Regions from separate parts of the Homo sapiens genome. Here region 1 is linked to region 2. Evidence: promoter capture Hi-C in human tissues and cell types (Jung and others, 2019). All regions are on one chromosome and are shown on one strand. Each heading gives the region's core, a stretch centred on a gene start or on the middle of the fragment in contact. The rest is flanking DNA. Distances are from core to core; before and after follow the strand shown.

Evidence for each region. The method cuts DNA at HindIII sites, captures the fragments that hold promoters and counts their contacts. A contact is called where the count stands out against the background at its distance.
Region 1: a contact is called between a fragment that was not itself captured here and the fragment with the promoter of DUSP15 in region 2, in 5 of the 25 tissues and cell types used here (H1 embryonic stem cells, IMR-90 fibroblasts, aorta and 2 more).

Annotation. Positions count from the first base shown.
Region 1 is chr20:31,970,100-31,973,281 of GRCh38, reverse strand. All of the region lies in intron 1 of XKR7 (XK related 7), which reads right to left. Among named protein-coding and RNA genes, the nearest start is that of XKR7, 3.5 kb to the right of the region's middle. RefSeq lists enhancers at 205-704, 705-1,206 and a silencer at 822-1,116. The HindIII fragment of the contact is 4,685 bases long and covers 1-3,182 here.
Region 2 is chr20:31,868,944-31,871,829 of GRCh38, reverse strand. DUSP15 (dual specificity phosphatase 15) reads left to right here and starts at 1,303. Exons shown (of 7, transcript NM_080611.5): 1 at 1,303-1,513; 2 at 2,233-2,266. The coding sequence starts at 1,493. TTLL9 (tubulin tyrosine ligase like 9) reads right to left here and starts at 1,196. Exons shown (of 15, transcript NM_001008409.5): 1 at 881-1,196; 2 at 635-708. The coding sequence starts at 703. RefSeq lists silencers at 1,267-1,366, 1,387-1,656. The HindIII fragment of the contact is 13,568 bases long and covers 1-2,886 here.

The DNA.
Region 1 (3,182 bases), core at 20-2,519, 100 kb before region 2:
GAATGACTGCCATGTCATTATGGCTTCAAGGGACTTCAGGACCCCCTTGCTGTCCTGCCATGTGCTCCGTGAACAAAGCTTTGTTCCACAGGGAGCAAAGCCCAAGCTAATGCACTAATCATTGCCAGCAGTTTCTGAGCATTTAACGATGGAATGAGCCCTTTGCTGAACCCTTACACATTATCTCATTAAACCTTGAAACAACCTAAGAGGCGGGTGGGTACAATTTTGGTCCCTAGTTTACAACGGATGAGAGATTATTTGCCTTGTCAAGGTCACATATAAGAAGTAGTAAAGTCTGGATTTAAACTGAGGACACTTGAATCTAGAGTCCGTGCTCTCAACCCTCTCAACCGTTATGCCAAGAATGTAGTTTCCCAGAGGGGAAATCCAGAGCCTGACATTTCCTTCCAATAGGTCACTAACTCATTCCAGAACTTCTCTGTCATGCAGGGCTTCTTAGGTGACATAGAGTGCAGTGTCTGGGCCTATGCATAGAGAGGGCATTAGAGGGAGGGCCCCTAAATCCCAATTGCCTAATTTTCTCCCCATTTTGGGGTTCCCAGATCCCGAAAGCCTGGCAGGAATCCCATGTCAGATCGTCTCCCACTAATTGGCTTAGCAAACCATGCTTATCTGGGTGAAGCTGGGGCCCACTGAGCTCAAGATTAGGAAAAGCAGGATTCATGGCTTACTGCTCTGCTGCCTACAGGGTCAGAGGGGACAGGGTTAGGACTTTAATTAGCTTAAGAACCCTGGGCAGTTTAACAGCTCAGAGAGTTTAAAGGGAAGGGAGGGATGAAGTTGCAGGTTGGTGTCCAGGCCACAGCCAGCTTCGTGCCCCGCCAGAGGATCTGTTTGCTGTTCCCTCAGAGTTCAATCTCTCTGTGCACAAAGATATTGTTCTGGCATGTCCCAAAGTAGCCAGTGTGTGGTGTAAAAGATAGAGCTAGGTTTGGGACTGATCACCTTTCCTCACTTCCTCAGTGGGTGACTTTTGGACAAGGTTCCTTATCTGATAAATGGGTATATCAATAGTCACCAGGGGGGAGGGTTTCAGAGTAACATGAGATCACATGCCTGAAACACTCACACAGGGCCTGTGGGGACACGGTAGGTGTGCAGTGTCTGTGTATGCTTTCTCCTCCTCTCTCTCTTCAGAGCTTCATTTTATGTTTAAATTAGTAATAAAATCTTCTGTGTGAAAAGACCTTATCAATTTGAAGAGCTAAACCAGAGGTTACAAAGAAGACAGGCTAATAAATATGTTTCCTTTGGTTGACACTATTTTTAAACATTTTAATTAGTAGTTAAATTTTGGAGAGTTCACGGAAAAATCCCAATTTCCCATTTCTCTTGAGAAATCAAGACTGGGTCCACGATTTCTCATGGCATGATCAGCTGGAGCTTCCCTTTTCCTCGGACACTACTTGCCCCTGAATGTCCTCTTGTCTGACACCCCTTGTATCTTATGGTCTTATGGTCTGTTACCTGCCTGGGTCCTCAAAGCATTTGAATTTTTAATTCAGGATTTTACAAGTCTAAGAGGTTGAAAAATATCTTCATGATTATAATTATTTTATTCAGAATTGAGGAAATGGGATCAGGAGGTGAGTGACTGCCTAGCCTCCCAGGTGTGATTCTGGAGGACTCAATCACACATCTCCCTCTTCATTACCCCAGGCCCCACCACTCAGAACATCTGTGGGAACATCTCACGTGGTAAGCAAATGTGCTGGGCCAACATTGCTTAATTTCTAGGAATGCCAGCCCCTGCAGCTTCTCTATACCTTCTCTGGGTTTTCCCTCCATTTATCCAGGCCCTTAGCCATTTTAGAATCCAAAGATTTTGGGGGCAAGGGCCCAGAGGCTTTTGCTTTGGCAATAGACCCAGAGTCAGAATTTCAGGAATGGGAAACTCTTAAGGTCATCACATTGAATCTCATTTCACACACAGGGAAACCGAGACCCAAAGATGGAAAGAGCCTTGCCCAAGGTCACCCAGCAAACTATAGTTACAAACTAGGATAAAGATGTCAGCCTCCTGACCAGACCACCCCCGAATCCAGCCTTTTCCCCACAATACACACTGTTCCCGTCCTCACCCACATAGTTCAACTCCCTGCCCCTCTTTTCACATTCTTATCTCAGTGCAACAGAAGCCCTGACTTTCTATCATACTGGAATCTTGGAATCTCAGATTCATACTTCTTTAAGCTTGAGGGACACTTTAGTGGCAGAATTACAAGGTGGATAAATTGAACTCAGGCTTTAAAGGCAGAGAGCCTGGAGTCTCAGCTCTTCAAGTTCCTAGCTGTGTGACCTTGGACAAGGATGCCCCCTCTCTGAGCCTCCATTCCCTCATCTGTCAAGTAGAAATTATAATGCTAACCACATGACAGGATGATTAGAAGGGGTACAGGAAATAAAGCAGGTAAAAAGGCAACCAGTAGGCTTGGCACAAAGTCAGTGTTTAATAAAATAATTGTTATAGAACTGTAAATTAGGGCTTTCATGTCTAAGTGAAATAGTACAGATATGATCAAAGGGAAAGATGGACAAATTAGAGCACATAGACTCTTTCTAAATTGTTACAGGATTGATACTGCTAGATCCAATTTTTTTAAAGGGAAGCTACGACTCTGGGTTTTTAAAATACTATGCAAGCCACACAAAACACTTCCACAAGCCACATTCAACCTAAGAGCTATTAGATTGTTATCCCTACAAACTTATCTCATCCCAGCCTCCTCATTTTGCAAATGGGAGATAGTAGAAATAGCTAGTCCTTTTATCCATATCCAAGAAACCATAGAGCTGAGGGGATCCTTAGCAATTCTAGCTACTCCCCTGGGACCCCACACCCATGGCCATTTTTGCCCTATTTGAGGGAAACTCAGTTTATGCTTAACAAAGAAGAGAAGTATTAGTTTCTTGTAAGTGGATTCTGAATGGGGGGATAGCCAGTGAGTCGAGGGGCATCTGGCCCACTTTAGGCTGAAGGAAAAGGGGGATGAAGCTTCCTACCAAGAATAGGAAGTTACCATTTCAGAATCTAAAAATATCTTTCACCATCTGTCCACTCGGGCACAGAATGATAAATGCAGATTAGTTCCTGGATGTAGACATGAATATTTTTATGTGTCACGCTAATAATAATAACACCACCTTGTGTGGATAGA
Region 2 (2,886 bases), core at 54-2,553:
ATATTTCATTTGGACAATGCTGGTCTATACCATTAGCTAATGAAGGTAGGAACAATCTCTACCCACTGCTGTGTCCCTAGTCTCTATCATATACTAGATGCTCAGTAAGTATTTACTGAATAATTTGGTATTTATGAGAACTCTGGGCTTTTATGAGAGCTGAGACGGGCAGCCCCATGTATGCTATGAACTTGAGGGAGGAAGAAACAGTTTTATTTTTCTCCAATCACTGTATTTCAAAGGGCTCTGTGGATTCTCTCTGTCCTGCTCTCTATCCACAATCCCCAGTCACCTACTACTATAGATTGAGGGGTGGGGGTGATGGCTGAAGGAACAAAGCTGGTGCAGCTGCTTCTATTTCAGTCCTATAGGAAGTGTCTTGATTATTTTACATTCTCCAGCTTTGGTCCTAGAAGCCAGGAAGGGCTCACCTCAACATCCTCAGAAACACAGATAGGGTTAGCTGGGGGTCACGGGGACTTTCCCAGGGTCATCTAGCAGGTCAGAGGTGAACAGGGCCTCAAACCTTGGTCTCCAGACCCCTTCCAGGACCCTGACCTCTAGCTATTAATACATCCTGATGTAGTCTCCTTCAGACTGGAACCCTCCCTCAAACCCCTCTCCCAACATTCACCTGTAATTTCTTGGGGCACCTAATGGCAGTTGTGCCTGGTCCCAGCAGAGCTTCCCTGGATGGCACCATCCCTCCTAGGGGCCGAAATGGATGGAAGGAAGGAGTGAGAGGATGGATGAATGGATGGGAAGATGGACGAGTGAATGAGTGAACAGGAGGGTGGGAGAATGGATGGGAAAGGAGGAAGGCTGGTTGGTAGGGTGTCTCTGCACGGGTGGAGAGGATGTATCGGAAGGAATTACCCACTTATCCCGTTCCAAGCAGACTCTGAAGAGCAGAGAGCCCTCGGCGATCAAAGTCCAGCCCCGTCACGTTTCTGCTAGAAGCCGAGGCGGGAGAAGTTGGGTGCTTTCCCCCGGGGCCCGCAGGGACGTCCAGGCAGAGCCGGAAGGGGGACGGGAGTTTGTGGGCCGGCCGGGGGGCTCTAGGCGACATCCCCCCATCCGCCCGCGCCTGCCGGTGCCAGGGTGGGGTAAGGCCCCCGCCCCCACCTCCGGAGGTGGCGGCCCCACGCGGCCCCAACAAACTGCCGTTGTCCCGCGGGCCGTGGGCCCGGCACACTGGGGCTTTGTCCGGCCCCCCGCCGCGACCCGAGGCGGGGGCCCCACATGACCGAAGGGGTAGGAGGAGCCTGCGGCGGCGGCGGTGGCAGCGGCGGCTCCACCACCATTTCCCTCCCGGGCCGGGGGTCGGCGGGCGGTGGCGGTGGCTGGGCAGGGCTGGGCAGGGCCGCGGACGCCAGGCCCCCCGTTCCCCGCCAGGCTGCAGGCGTCGGGCCTGGGCCGTCAGGGCAGCTGTGACCGGATCGCTTCCCGGGCGGCGAGCTGGGGGTGCACCCGGACCGCCGCCCCCGGGATCATGGGCAATGGCATGACCAAGGTAGGGGGCGGGCCCCGCGCAGCCTCCCCGGTCCCCGCCCCGGCCGCCGCGGCCCGGCGCTGACCAGCTCGGTCCGCCCGCCTCTGACCTTCTGTTCTCGCCGGTCTCCGTGCGGCGGCATCTCCGTGTCCCTGTGACTCGAGACCGCGGCTGTCGGGTCTCCCCCTCTCTGACCCTGCGTCTCTGTCCCCGCTGTGTCCGCCCTCTCTCCGTGACTCTGTGTGTCTCTCGCTGTCTTGCTGTGGCTGTCACTCCCAGGCTGTCTCCCAGTGAGTCCTGCTCTCCGTCTGCATGTGTCCCTCTCCCTTGTCGCTGACTCCTCGGCTCTCTCCGGGGCTGTTTCTCCATCCTGTCCCGCCTCTGCCTGTCATTGCCTTTCTGCCTCCCCAGCCCCAGAATTTCCATCCCTGCACCCTGCAAGTCTACCTCTCTCCTCTCCTCTCCTCCTAAGACCTGCCTTCCTCCTCTCCCCTCTCATACCCAAGCTGGCCTCCCTTGGTTCCCTCGGTTGGTTAACTGGCCCCCTAGCCTACCCTCCCCAGAGCCCCAGACCCCTCTCACAGAGGACTCAGGGCCCACAAAAGGGAAGAGAGTGCTCCCTGAGCCCTGAGGTCCATACCCTTCATGGGACAGAGAGGGGCTGTGGGCCCCCCAGCTGCCCTGGGGGTGGAAGGGGGTGCAGCCCCTGCCCCACTGACCCTTGCCTGTCCTTCCTCTAGGTACTTCCTGGACTCTACCTCGGAAACTTCATTGGTGAGCACTGCCCACTCTGTCCCGAGGCCATGGCACTCTGCCTGTCTCAGGCCTGTGTCCACCATTCATGCCCTGGCCCATGCATCTCAGGAATGGGGTTGGGGGCAGGGAAGCGGCCCCAGGCTGGGAGGGGGAAAAGGCTGATGGAGGACAAGGGGTGCACATGCAGGCGAGTGTCCCCAGGCTTGAAGGGACATGGAGGGAGCATGGGGGCCTGACACTGACATCCCTCCCCGCCATTCAGCCTTCCCCAGTGTTCTACCACCAGACCAAAGGGCCAGAGCAAAGGGCTCGGGGCCTGGGCTGTGGACCTGAGCAAGTCTACACCTGCGCTAAGCCTCAGCCTCCTCCTCAGCACAAAAGGTCCACCAGCTGCTGAGCACTCTTCTGGCCCTGAGGTTCTGGGTTGAGGTCTGTTTGCGGGTGCTGCTTCTAGCGGGGAAGCTGGGAACTCTTCCCCCCATAACTTCCTCCTTGTCAGAGGAGAGGTCCCTGGAGATGGGCTGGGCCTTCTTGTGAGCAGGGTCATGAGCACCAACACTGTCGCACCCCAGAGCCCTGGAGCAGCTGGGCAGCCTAGAGCTGGAAGTTGGGGGGGCGGTGAGCCGGCAAGCTTTGCA